5 separate regions of the Homo sapiens genome follow, and all the other regions are linked to region 1. Evidence: promoter capture Hi-C in 16 types of primary human blood cells and fetal thymus (Javierre and others, 2016). All regions are on one chromosome and are shown on one strand. Each heading gives the region's core, a stretch centred on a gene start or on the middle of the fragment in contact. The rest is flanking DNA. Distances are from core to core; before and after follow the strand shown.

Region 1 (2,656 bases), core at 74-2,573:
AGGTTGGCTGAGCACAGGCCCTGGCATGGAGTTGGAGCCTGGAACCCTGGTGGCTGCTATTATTGTTATTTGTTATTACTACTTTTTTGCAGAGATGGGGTCTCACTATGTTGCCCAGGCTGGTCTGGGACTCCTGGCCTCAAGTGATCCTCCAGCATCGGCCTCCCAAGATGCTGGGATTATGCGTGTGAGCCACTGCGCCAGGTCCTACTGTTATTATTATTTTATTCACTGGACCCAGAAAGGAGAAGGGACCCAGAAAGGAGAAGGGGCCTCCAGCAGCGGTGGGAGACGGGGATGGGAAGCAGGTGGGATTGTGGGAGGGAGATTGGGACCACGGTGAGCTGAAGCCAGGGAAGAGGAACAGGGACCCGCCAAAGACCTTGGGTGCTGCTGTCCAGGGTGGTTATTTTTAGAATCTGGCAACTGCCTGCCATCCCACCCCCAGCTGCTGCCCCGCCCCACCCCCACATTCCGGGGCTCGGCTTGCACCAAGTCAGCAGGCCCAAGACAGGTGGGCCAGGGTGGCTGGGAGGACACGGGTCCAGGCCTCGGGGCTCAAGGACATCCTGGGATGGCAGCCCAGACCCCCTCCCTTCAGAGGATGCCCCCCTAATCCCTGCCAGGGACACCCCAGGAGAGGGCACTGAGGCAGGGTGGTGACCCCCCCCACAAGAGACATAAGCAGAAAGCCCCAGAGCCACACACCCCCACCACCGCAGACTCCCCAGATCACACTGTAAACTAAGTCACACAGTCACACTTCCAAACTCAAGGACATGCCCAGGACACTCATGTGTCCGCTACTAAGTCAGAAACAAGGTCACAGGGACCCACACAGTAGCAAACGCAAAGAAAGCCTGCGACACCTGCTCTTGCAGACTCTGCTAGGCGACAGACACACCTCCCACGGCTTGTGGCGCCAGTGTTGGCGACAAACTGTAATGAACACAGGCCTGGCTCAACAGCCCCTTGCAGGGGGTGACAGTTGGCAGCTGTCAGGACCCCTTTCATCTCGGATCCCTCCCCATAACCCAAGACTTGTGCCGCAGAAATCACAGGTCCCAGTGGGGGGTTCAGGCAGCCTCACAGATGGAGGGGCCTCCCAGACACACAAGGGTCAACCTTCCCACGCACCGACCTGCCTTTGTATAGGAGGATGTTGGTGGAGCAAGGGGTGACACACAGACCCTTTCCCAAGCCAAGCCTCTAGCACCCACAGAAATCCCCTACTCTGGCCCCCACCCAGATTCCCGCCCCGTGCAGTACCTGGCTGGGCTGGGCTGAAGGGGGGCTGTCTGTATCCTGGAGGTGACACTGACCCAAAGGAAGGGCCAGCAGCCGTGGCCTTATATAGGGGGACCTAGGCTGTGCTATTGGCTGGGAGGGGTTGTCCCCAGGGAGGAGTTCTGGAGGGCAGCTGAGCCTCTCACCTCCCTGCTCCCGCACCATACCCACCCTGAACCCAGGCATGCTTTGCGCCCAGCCCCATGGCCTTGTATGGGCTGAGCCGCCCCAGGGGCTGGGCTCACGCCCCCCCACCAAGCTGATACCCTGACCAAGTGCTGAGTTGGGCTGGCGGTGGGGACAGCTGGCCCCCCGCCGGGAACATGGGACGGTGGCTGGGAACGTCCCAAGCACGTAGAAGCCACCGTCCCCTGGCCCCTGAGTCTCCTTCAGCCACCAGCCCTTCCTGTGGCCCTCGGCTCCCCCTGTGCCCCCTGGGCCCTCACCCCTACCCGAGTCCCAGCGGCACCTCGGGGAACCAAGGTGTGGCTCCAGGAGGAGCAGATACCCTGTGAGCTGGAGGAAGCAGAGGCCGGGAGAAGGACCAATTGCAATGGAGGGCAGTCTAACCCCAGAAACCCGCGCTTGGGCGCCCCTTCCTCCTAGGGACTGAGTGGAGGGGAAACTGAGGCTGGCTGAGTTGGAGAGATTCAAACTCAGGGCAAGGGTGGGAGGCGGTGGTCACCCTCCCCCCCACTTAACCCTCGCCCCCTCGGTGCCACTGGGAGATTTCCGCTGTGCGGGGGACAGGGAGGGTCTCGGTCGCCGGGAAAGGAGTTATTTTTAGAGGGCGCTTTGCTGTCTCCTCTGCCGCAAAGGCCGAGACCCGAGGCGCTGGGTATGGGGGGGTTCGGGGGCAGGTGTTGGAGGGGGGTTCGCCACGTGTCCTGGTTAATTATAACCGGGCGTCTCGGGTGTCCTCGGGCCTCGCCTCCTTACAAGGGCAGCCACGGGGCCCTGGGTGGCCGCTCCCACCTCCCGGGGAAGGGGGCTGGGCAGCGACGCCGTTCAGAGCGCGGGCGCCAGACTCGCGCAGATCTGGGCAGAGCAAGCGCTCTCGGCGCCTCGGCTGTGAGCAAGGACTTCCAGGGCTGAGAGGGGGGTTCTGTGGAGGAGAGTACAGTATAGAGGAAGCCGCTTTCTCCTCCTGGGACGCGCCAGGATTGCAGGCTGATCGGGTCTCCTCCTCCAGGGAGCTCCCAGGATTGCGACGAAGAAAAGAATGTCCCTTCCCTCTGAGTTCCTCCCTATCCCAGGGTCTCCTGGGTCTCCTTCACATCTTCTTAGGCAGGTGAGGACTGGCTTAGAGAAAGGGAGCCTCTGTGCCTCTCCCTCAGACTCCTGATCTGAGGGGGGAGGGGAGAGGGGT
Region 2 (2,656 bases), core at 46-2,545, 490 kb before region 1:
CTTTGGGAGCTCAAGGCGGGAAAATCACTTGAGGTCAGGAATTCAAGACCAGCCTGGGCAACACAGCAAGATCCCATCTCTACAAAAAAATTTTTAAATTAGCCAAACATGGTGGCACACACCTGCAGTCCCCACTACTCAGAGTGGGAGGATCGCTCAAGTCCAGAAAGTCAAAGCTGCAGCGAGCTATGATGGCATTACTGTACTCCAGGCTGGGAGACAGAGCAAGATCCTGTCTCCAAGACATAATAATAATAATAATAATTCACATCCTAATGGTGTTGCTGGACTCCAGTGGGGAAAGTGGTCAGTGGAATTCCTTAGAAGGTCCACAGACCTAGGAAGAGACTTCAGGAACTGCAACCAATCCCTGACTCTCTAGGGCCTGAGGAGGCACTTGGATGGGAACACCCTCCACCTCCCAAGAGAAGCAGTTGACTCCTCCACGAGGAAGCACTGGACAGCCAGGAGGTGCCTCTTGTTAACCAAAGTGGGCTGTTGACCTTGAACTCCAGCTCAGAGATCTTGTCCCTGGTCTTGTTCTCAAGACTCATCAGGTTCTCTCTTTCTCTGGACATGGAATCTAGATCTTCAATTTTGAAGCCAAATCTATGGGAGTAAAACAAAGAGATTTGATTAAAACAAAAGATGTTGTGCAAAACTCAAAAAATAAAACAGGCTGGGCGCTGTGGCTCAGGCCTGTAATCCCAGCACTTTGGAAGGCCAAGGCAGGAGGATCACTTGAGCCCAGGAGTTCGAGACCAGCCCTGGCAACAAACAGAGACTCTGTCTCTACAAAAAATGCAAAAATTAGCCTGATGTGGCGGTACACGCCTGTAGTCCCAGCTACTCGGGAGGCTGAGGTAGGGGGATCCCTTGAGCCTGGGAGGCTGAGGCTGCAGTGAGCCGTGATCCAGCCACTGCATTCCAGCCAGGGCAACAGAGCGAGATCCTGTCTCAAAAAATAAAATAACAGTAGTCCCAGCACTTTGGGAGGTCGAGGCAAGCAGATCACTTGAGGTCAGGAGTTCTCAACCAGCCTGGCCAACATGGTGAAACCCCATCTCTACTAAAAATACAAAAATTAGCCAGGGGTAGGGGGGCACACCTGTAATGCTAGCTACTGGGGATGCTGAGGCATGAGAATCACTTGAACCCGGGAGGCGGAGTTTGCAGTGAGCCAAGATCACGCCACTGCACTCCAGCCTGGGCAACAGGGCGAGACTCCGTCTCAAAACAACAACAAAAATAAACATGAGAAGCTAGATGACTGTAGCTGGCTGATCACCTGCTTGGCAGCCACAGCTTTTACCTGTGTCTTGGGCTTGGGACTCATGGAGCAGAGTGGGTGTCGCCCACAGGACGCATGAATGCTTGGAGCTTACTGGATCCCTGCATCCCTCCCATCTGTGTTCAGCTCACATTCTTAGTATGTCTAACAGGTCTCATGAGTTGCTTTTTTTTTTTTTTTGAGACGGAGTCTTGCTCAGTTGCCCAGGCTGGAGTGCAGTGGCGCGATCTCAGCTCACTGCAACCTCCGCCTCCCGGGTTCAACTGATTCTCCTGCCTCAGCCTTCCGAGTAGCTGGGATTACCGGCGGGTGCCACCACGCCTGGCTAATTTTTTGTATTTTTAGTAGAGACAAGATTTCACCGTGTTCGCCAGGATGGTCTCGATCTCCTGACCTCATGATCCGCCTGCCTCAGCCTCCCAAAGTGCTGGGATTACAGGTGTGAGCCACCACGCCCGGCTTGAGTTGCTTCTTAATATCCATCCTTCATTTCACCTGTCTGTGTCCTTATTTATAGGGCTCTTGTTCCCTATATAACAGAATTGAAAATTCCCTTTAAAAAAATACAGCAAATGCACACAGAGGATCAGAGGATGGAGGGGAGAATTTGATGAGATAACCAGGGAAGTATTTAGTACAAAGCCTGGCACAGAGTCCATGTGCAGTACATGTTAATTATTGTGATTATCTAAGGAAAAATAAAGAGACACAGAGAAAAGCAAAAAGGTTGCCTTAGGCCAGGTGCGGTGGCTCACACCTGTAATCCCAGCACTTTGGGAGGCCGAGGCAGGCAGATCACCTGAAGTCATGAGTTCGAGACCAGCCTGGCCAACATGGTGAAACCTTGTCTCTACAAAAAAAAAAAGACAAAAATTAGCTGGGCATGGTGGCACGCGCCTGTAATCCCAGCTACTCAGGAGGCTGAGACACAAGGATCACTTGAACCCAGGAGGCGGAGGTGGCAGCGAGCCGAGATCACACCACTGCACTCCAGCCTGGGTGACAGGGCGACACTCTGTCTCAAAAAAAAAAAAATAAAGGCCAGGTGCGGTGGCTCACGCCTGTAATCCCAGAACTTTGGGAGGCCGAGGCAGGCAGATCACCTGAGGTGAGGGGTTCGAGACCAGCCTGGCAAACATGATTTAGTAGAAACCCCGTCTCTACTAAAAATACAAAAATTAGCTGGGCGTGGTGGCAGGCACCTGTAATCCCAGCTACTCGGGAGGCTCAGGCAGGAGAATCGCTTGAACCCGGGAGGCGGAGGTTGCAGTGAGCCGAGATCACACCATTGTACGCTAGCCTGGGGGGACAAGAGCGAGACTTCGTCTCAAAAATAAATAAATAAATAAACAAATAGGCTGGGCG
Region 3 (2,656 bases), core at 45-2,544, 360 kb before region 1:
GCCAAGAACGGTGGGACCAGGACTATAGCTGAGGTCTGTTTGACCCTGGAGCCCCTCCAATGGTGTCCTGTGCTTTGGGAGATTACAGGAAAGAGCTCTTGCTGGTGAAGGGGACAGGAGGTGACAAGTGACACATTTAACACATGTAGCCCCTCTAACCATGCTCCTGGGACATTTGCTATCTGGTGGGTAAGGTGAATGGAGAAAACATTGCAGAGGAGTGGACTAGGGGCTGTGGAGGAGAGGGCCAGACACTGGAGCCTCAGAGGGAAGTGGGTTTGGGTGACCTGAGCGTCCGGGGTGAGTCCTTCAGGCAGCGGTGGCCACACAGGTGTTTATCACAGCCTTGCTCTGTGCCACTGGTGCTCTTGAGCTAACTGTGACTGTGATAGCCCTGGTCCTGCCTCTTGAAGGCTGATGGCTGAGGGGACAGCTGGGAGGAGGGGTGAATGAGAACAGGACTGGGGAGCTAGCAGGGTGCGTGAAGGGTGAGCAGAACATCCCCTTCCAAACCTGGCATTCAGAGAGTCTCTGATTGTGACCTTCTGTGTCTGAGTGAAGAGTCCTCCTCTGGGAAGCCGTGCCTGGCTCCCTTGCCTGCCCCCCTTCCCTTCTGTCATTCTGCTTCTGCGGTCCTTCCTGAGTGACCAGACAAGTGGCTTCACCTCTCTGAGCCTCCCTTTGCTCAGCAGCCGGATGGAGCTGGTCATAGTTTTGGCCTCAGGATTAGTGTGCTGTGTGCTGTCACAGACATGTCTTGTGGCCGTGGCTTATGGTAGCAGCTGATAGTCTGGTTGTGTTTTTCTGTGTCTGTCCCACCTGCTGGACCAGGGGCCCTTGGAGGGCAGGGTTGGCCACAGAGGGGGCCTCAGGAATGGTTTGCCCAGGGAAGGCTCTTTCAGCTAAGCCCCAGCCTTGAAGAATCTGGCACCTGCCATAAGACTCCTTCTGTTGTTGTCCCCAATAGCCACCTCCTTGCATCCTGGCTCCAGCCCCAGGGAACAGTGGACAGTCATCAGAATCAGACTGTGCCTCTAATCTTCTGTTTCTGCACCTGCTGCTTCTCTCACTTCCTCCTTTGTGCCACCAACTTGCTATGTTTTAGGTCTCAGCTTCAATGCCCCCTTCTCCAGGAAGTTGCCCCGAACCCTAGACTGGACCAGGTGCCTCTCAGGGCTCCTGCATTCCTGCCCCGTTCTGGACAGTCACTGTCTAGAGATGAATCTTTCTCCCCCACCGGGCTGTTAAACCCCAGGAGGACAGCAAAAGACTCTCTAGGTCACCACTGTCCCTAGGTCACAGAGGTGCTCTGCGAGTGTTTTCCTCCTAAAAGAAGAGGACCGCACCTTCCCAGGTGTTTTCACTGATTCATTCTCCAGTTATTGATAAGCACCCACTCTTTGCCCAGCCTGTGCCTGGCCTTCATGCATGATGGTGTCTAAGACAGCCCCCGTGTCCATTCTCCCTCCTTACCCTGGCCTCTGTCCCCCACAGGTGACCAGCAATGGCAGCATCGGGAGGGACCCGCCAGCGGAGACCCAGCCTCAGAACCCACCGGCCCAGCCGGCACCCAATGCCTGGCAGGTCATCAAAGGTGTGCTGTTTAGGTGAGCAGACGGGACTTGGGTTTGTTCACCGAAAACATTCAAATAAAAATAAGGAAGAAAGGAAAAGTCAGCTGATCAGCTGAGGATGGTGATCATTACTGTATGGTAGAGTTGCTTTTTTTCTTTTTTTTTTTGTATGATGGAATGTTTTCTAAACCTTTTTTTTACTCTGGTAAAACATACTGAAGTAGGGAGTCTCCCTGAACCTGTTCTGGTTTTTGGGGGGCTACCTGATTTGTGAAAAAATAAAAACACAAAAAATACTGAAGTAGTTTGCTAGGGCCCTTGTATCAAGTAATATAGACGGAGTAGCTTAAACAACTGAAATAGGAAATTCATTGTCTTACAGTTCTGAAGGCTGGAAGTCCAGGATCCAGCTGTGGGCAGGGGCAGTTTCTTCTGTGGCTTCTCTCCTGGGCTTGCAGAAGGCCGTCTTCTCCCTGTGTCTTCATGTGGTCTTTCCTCTGTGTGTGTCTGTGTCCTAAGCTCCTCTTATGGGGACACTAGTCATACTGGCTTAGTACCCACCATAATGACCTCACTGAACCTTACTTTTTTACAGACCCTATCTGGGCCAGGCACAATGACTCACCCTCATAATCCCAGCATTTTGGGAGGCCAGGTTGGAAGGACTGCTTGAGCCCAGGAGTTTGAGACCAGCCTGGGCAACATAGTAAGACCCTGTCTCTACTAAAAATAAAAAAATCTGGCTGGGCACGGTGGCTTACACCTACAATCCCAGCACTTTGGGAGGCCGAGGCGGGTGGATCACGAGGTCAAGAGATCGAGACCATCCTGGCCAACATAGTGATACCCCATCTCTACTAAAAATAAAAAAATTCCGGAGGCTGAGACAGGAGAATGGCGTGAACCCGGGAGGCGGAGCTTGCAGAGAGCTGAGATCGCGCTACTGCACTCCAGCCTGGGCAACAGAGAAAGACTCCGTCTCAAAAAAAATAAAAAATACAAAAAAAATACAAAAATTAGCTGGGTGTGGTGGCACGTGCCTGTAGTCCCAGCTACTCAGGAGGCTGAGGGCAGGAGAATCG
Region 4 (2,656 bases), core at 87-2,586, 320 kb before region 1:
CTGCCTCGGCCTCCCAAAGTATTGGGGTTACAGGTGTGAGCCACCGTGCCTAGCCAGAACACCCAAATTTTATACAAGCAAAGGAAAGACAACAAACCCTGCATCTGTGGTCTGAGAGCGCCTGGCATCCAACTTAGAACCTAATAGATCACCTAGTCGTTCTCAGGAATATGAGAGGCTTAGGAATGTGATCTAGCCAAATGGCTGCCCCTCTTTCAGCCTGAGTCCCTTCTGCAATAATCCTATCATATGCTTCTGGCGCTGGTGATAGGGATGAGCTCAGGGTTTAGGCACACAGCTCAGGATGTATACGGAGGCTACACTGCTGCCATTCGCAGACTGAATAACTGAGCTTTTGAGCTCAAAGTGGTCTGGGCTATTTATGGGTAACTTTCAGGGGCTGCAGGGAGGAACAAACCAATAAATAAAACATCCATGCATTCATCCAATAAACTTTTTTTTTTTTGAGATGGGAGTCTCGCTCTGTTGCCCAGGCTGGAGTGCAGTGGCACGATCTCAGCTCACTGCAACCTCCGCCTCCCAGGTTCAAGCTATTCTCCTGCCTCAGCCTCCGGAGTAGCTGGCATTACAGGCGCACACCAACACGCCCAGCTAATTTTTGTATTTTTAGTAGAGATGGGATTTCACCATGTCGGTCAGGCTGGTCTCGAAATCCTGACCTCGTGATGTGCCTGCCTCGGCCTCCCAAAGTGCTGAGATTACAGGCATGAACCACCGCGCCCGGCCTCCAATAAACATTTATTGGGCACCTACGGTGTTCCAGGCGCTGGTCTAGGCGTTGGGGTTACAACAACGCACAAAACATAAATTCTGAAGCTGACACGCTAGCTTTAAACGTTCCTTAAATATCTTCATCCTCAATTTACGGTTGAGGAAACTGAGGTGTAGCGAGACCTTGGAGGTTTCCGAAATATTATTATGGATGGCAGGTGTAGAGCCCTGCCAACCTCTCGATCCTGAAGCTCCCCTTCCAGCCTGAGAAACGGCAGGTTCAAGTCCCACTGGGAGACCAAAGCGGGGAGCGGCTCAGTTTGCCGGCTTGCTCAATGGGTAAGGCGTGATGGCTCTAAGCAGGCCTCAGTTGTCTCGTCCAGAGCAATGGGCAGCGACGCCTGCCCAACCCCTCCTGAGCGCCCAGCCTCCCTTTCCCGGCCGGCCCCGCCCCCGCGATCACGTGACGCGTGGGGGTTTTCCCGTTCCCCAGGCGTGACGTCACGGCGGGGTGCAGACCAATGGGCGCGCAGGCCGGCGGCGCCGGGGAATTCCGCCGCCCCGCCCCCGCCCGCCGCCCGCCCGGCCCGGCCCCGCGCCCCGCGCAGCCCCGGGCGCCGCGCGTCCTGCCCGGCCTGCGGCCCCAGCCCTTGCGCCGCTCGTCCGACCCGCGATCGTCCACCAGACCGTGCCTCCCGGCCGCCCGGCCGGCCCGCGTGCATGCTTCGGTCTGGGCCAGCCTCTGGGCCGTCCGTCCCCACTGGCCGGGCCATGCCGAGTCGCCGCGTCGCCAGACCGCCGGCTGCGCCGGAGCTGGGGGCCTTAGGTAAGCGGGGCTGGGGTTCAGGAGAGGGGTCTGGGGCGGGGCTGGAGATGCGGGGATTCTGGCGGTCCCGGAGTAGTCTGGGGGTTCCTATGGGAGTCTAAGGGTTTCGCGGGGGCAGAGTGAGGGTTCCTGAGACACTGTATTAGGGCGTAGGAAGAAGGCAGAGGGTGATGAGGGGGTACGGCCCGAGGTTCGAGCGAGGCGTCCCGCTGTAGAGTGAGAGGGGGCGGGGCCTGACCCTGAGGCAAAGAAGGGGGCGTGGCCTGACTCAGAGAAGGCGGAGCGAAAGCTGCTCTTGGGCGGTATCGGGGCGGGGCCGGGCCCAGAGAGGGAGAAGAGGGGCGGGATCCGACCCGGACTATGAGAAGAGGGCCGGGCCTGACTCAAAAAAGGAAGCAGGGCCCTACGCTGAGGGGTGAGGGGGCGGGGCCTGGCCGTGAGGGCAGGAAGGGGGCGGGGCCTGAGTTGGCCGAAAGAAGGGGAAGGGGCGGGGCCTGACTCTGGCCGAGTGGAGGGGAAGGGCCTGTTACCCAAAAAAGCAGGGCGGGGCCCGACACAGAGAATGAGGAGGGGGTGGGGCTTGCCTCCAGACGGAGAAGCGGAGCCTTGACATTGAAAAAATTAAAAGTGGTCTGACCCTGACAGGAGGATGTTTTTTTTTGTTTGTTTTTTGTTTTTTTCTTTTGAGATGGAGTCTCGCTCTGTCGCCCAGGCTGGAGTGCAGTGGCACGATCTAGGCTCACTGCAACCTCTGCCTCCCGGGCTCAAGCAGTTCTCCTGCCTCAGCCCCCCGAGTAGCTGGAATTACAGGTGCCCGCCACCACACCCGGCTAATTTTTGTAGTTTTACTAGAGACGGGGTTTCACCATGCTGGTCAGACTGGCCTCGAACTTCTGACCTCAGGTGATCCGCACGCCTCGGCCTCTCAAAGTGCTGGGATTACAGGTGTGAGCCCTTGTGCCCAGCGGGATGGGGACTTTTTAAACTGAGATTGAGATGGGGTCCCCTCCAGGCCCAACTTTAAGGGAGAAAAGGAGCGGGCCCTGAGTGTGATGAAGGGTGGGGCGAACCACAGAAACTAAAGGCCAGGACCTGTCC
Region 5 (2,656 bases), core at 81-2,580, 280 kb before region 1:
TATTAAAATACAAAAAATTAGCCAGGTGAGGTGGCGGGTGCCTGTAGTCCCAGCTACTCGGGAGGCTGAGGCAGGAGAATGGTGTGAACCGGGGAGGGGGGCAGAGCGGAGCCTGCAGTGAGCTGAGATAGCACCATTGCACTCCAGCCTGGGCGACAGCGAGACTCTGTCTCAAAAAAAAAAAAAAAAAGACTGTCTCAAAAAAAAAGGAGTGAATATTAAGTGAAACCTGACCACTTCCCTCTCCTGTCTGATGCTTCAGTTGTTTTTGCGGGGAAGACCAAACTATCCCTGGCCTAAAAGACCCTTGTGGTCTGACCACTCAGCTTCATACTCGGACAGCTCCACTGGCCTTCTATTTCTGCCACCACAGGGCTTTGGCCTATATTACCCCCCCTCACCTATTTAACTCCTGTGTATCCTTGGGATCCCAGCTTGAAATGGCACCTGTTTTCTAGGTTCAGTGTTCCTGTCAGATGACATTTATATAGACCTTTCCCAGTTATTCCTGTATTACTGCCCCAGCCTCCTCCCTGGTCTGCTGGCCTCCAGTCCTGGCTCCTCCAGTCTGTCCTTCCTAGAAGAGTCCAAGAGGCCTTTCTAAAGCACAAAACTGACCCTGTCCCTTCGTTGCTCAGAGCACCTCTATGCCTCCTAAGTGCCCTTGAGAGAAAGCCCAGGCTCCTCACTGTGGCCTTTAGGGTCCTGCATGGCCTGGCCTTTGCCCTTCCTCCAGACTCACACCACCCCACACTCTGCCTTGTTCCTTTGCACAAGTCATTTTGGCCTCCTTGCTATTCCTCCACTGACCCAAGCGCTCCCCAGCCACAGGACCTTTGTATGAGCTCTTCCCATACCTGGTTAACTACTGCTTATCTGTCAGATCTCAGTCCTCAGAGAAGTCTTGTTTCCCAAGCTCAGTCAGGTGTCCTCTAAAAATGCCATAATCATAGCTCCCTTTCCTTCCCCTTTGTGGAATTTAACACACTTAAGATACACATACATGGGCCTGGTGTGGTGGCTCACGCCTGTAATCCCAGCATTTTGGGGGCCAAGGCAGGTGGATCACCTCAGGTCAAGAGTTTGAGACCAGCCTGGCTAACATGATGAAACCTCGTCTCTACTAAAAATACAGAAATTAGCTGGAGGTGGTGAGGAGCCTGGGCTTTCTCTCAAGGGCACTTAGGAGCCATAGAGGTGCTCTGAGCAATGAAGGGACAGGGTCAGTTTTGTGCTTTAGAAAGGCCTCCTGGACTCTTCTAGGGAGGACAGACTGGAGGAGCCAGGACTGGAGGCCAGCAGACCAGGGAAGAGGCTGGGGCAGTAATACAGGAGTAAATGGTAATCCCAGCTACTCGGGAGGCTGAGGCAGGAGAATTGCTTGAACCCGGGAGGCATAGGTTGCATTGCTCTCCAGCCTGGGCAACAGAGTGAGACTCCATCTCAAAAAAAAAATTTATATATATATATATATGTGTGTGTATGTATGTATACACACACGCACACACATACGCATACACAGGTTGAACATCCCTAATTCAAAATCCGAAATGCTCCAAAATCTTTTTTTTTTTTTGAGGCAGAGTCTTGCTTAGTCGCCCAGGCTGGAGTGCAGTGGCATGATGTCAGCTCACTGTAACGTCCACCCCCCAGGTTCAAGCTATTCTCCTGCCTCACTCAACCTCCTGAGTAGCTGGAATTACAGGCATGTGCCACTATGCCTGGCTAATTTTTGCACTTTTGGTAGAGACAGGGTTTCACCATGTTGGTCAGGCTAGTCTTGAACTCCCGACCTCAAGTGATTTGCTTGCCTCGGCCTCCCAAAGTGCTGGGATTACAGGCGTGAGCCACCACGCCCGGCTAGCTCCAAAATCTGAAACTTTCTGCATACTGACATGATGCCCCACTATAAGTGGAAAGTTTCACATATAAGTACTTTACACAAACTTTGTTTCATGCACAAAATTATTTAAAATATTGTATACAATTACCTTCAGGCTGTGCTTATAAAGTATAAATGAATTTGGTCTTTGGACTTGGGTGCCATCCCTAAGATATCTCATTATGAATAGACAAATATTCCAAAATCTGAAAAAATCTGAAGCACCTCTGATCCCAAGCACTTCAGATAAGGAATACTTTGTGTGTGTGTGTGTGTGTGTGTGTGTGTGTGTGTGTGTGTCCCGTCTCTACTACAAATACAAAAAATTAGCTGGGCGTGGTGGTGGGCACCTGTACTCCCAGCTACTCGGGAGGCTGAGGCAGGAGAATGGCATGAACCCGGGAGACAGAGCTTGCAGTGAGCCGAGATAGTGCCACTGCACTCCAGCCTGGGCGACAGAGCGAGACTCCGTCCCAAAAAAAAAAAAAAAAAAAAAAATTTTTTCCATTCATACGTATATGCACATACCCAGCTCTGTGAGACTGGGGACTAATTATATTTGGGTCACGTTTGTACCCTAGGGTTGGGTCCATCAAATATGGTTTGAAAGAATAGATGAATAAAACAATATTAACAATAGTAATTAACCATTTAATTGATCCTTCGCAGGCACCCCCAGGCCATGTGAGAGATGCAGGATTTTTTTTGAATCCCCACAGTCACCTGTGAGACAGAGACCGCTCTTACTTCCACTCAGCAGAGAAGAGGAAGCTC

The links. The method cuts DNA at HindIII sites, captures the fragments that hold promoters and counts their contacts. A CHiCAGO score of 5 or more calls a contact.
Region 2: a fragment that was not itself captured here is called in contact with the fragment with the promoter of CKM in region 1 in 4 of 17 cell types (total B cells, M2 macrophages, fetal thymus and 1 more); the score reaches 5.8 in total B cells.
Region 3: a contact is called between a fragment that was not itself captured here and the fragment with the promoter of CKM in region 1, in 1 of 17 cell types (M0 macrophages). The highest score is 5.2, in M0 macrophages.
Region 4: a contact is called between the fragment with the promoter of RELB here and the fragment with the promoter of CKM in region 1, in 2 of 17 cell types (M2 macrophages and erythroblasts). The highest score is 8.4, in M2 macrophages.
Region 5: a fragment that was not itself captured here is called in contact with the fragment with the promoter of CKM in region 1 in 5 of 17 cell types (endothelial precursors, M2 macrophages, erythroblasts and 2 more); the score reaches 5.6 in endothelial precursors.

What each region holds. Positions count from the first base shown.
Region 1 is chr19:45,321,552-45,324,207 of GRCh38, forward strand. It overlaps CKM (creatine kinase, M-type), which reads right to left and starts at 1,324. Exons shown (of 8, transcript NM_001824.5): 1 at 1,270-1,324. RefSeq lists an enhancer at 2,048-2,290. The HindIII fragment of the contact is 13,711 bases long and covers 1-2,656 here.
Region 2 is chr19:44,836,200-44,838,855 of GRCh38, forward strand. No RefSeq gene overlaps it. Among named protein-coding and RNA genes, the nearest start is that of NECTIN2, 8.8 kb to the right of the region's middle. The HindIII fragment of the contact is 4,470 bases long and covers 1-2,656 here.
Region 3 is chr19:44,960,469-44,963,124 of GRCh38, forward strand. CLPTM1 (CLPTM1 regulator of GABA type A receptor forward trafficking) reads left to right here. Exons shown (of 14, transcript NM_001294.4): 2 at 1,495-1,607. Among named protein-coding and RNA genes, the nearest start is that of CLPTM1, 6.4 kb to the left of the region's middle. RefSeq lists an enhancer at 779-1,098 and a silencer at 1,265-1,418. The HindIII fragment of the contact is 5,952 bases long and covers 1-2,656 here.
Region 4 is chr19:45,000,128-45,002,783 of GRCh38, forward strand. RELB (RELB proto-oncogene, NF-kB subunit) reads left to right here and starts at 1,337. Exons shown (of 12, transcript NM_006509.4): 1 at 1,337-1,558. The coding sequence starts at 1,453. RefSeq lists silencers at 1,161-1,570, 1,891-2,170. The HindIII fragment of the contact is 31,053 bases long and covers 1-2,656 here.
Region 5 is chr19:45,041,055-45,043,710 of GRCh38, forward strand. All of the region lies in intron 2 of CLASRP (CLK4 associating serine/arginine rich protein), which reads left to right. Among named protein-coding and RNA genes, the nearest start is that of CLASRP, 3.3 kb to the left of the region's middle. The HindIII fragment of the contact is 4,283 bases long and covers 1-2,656 here.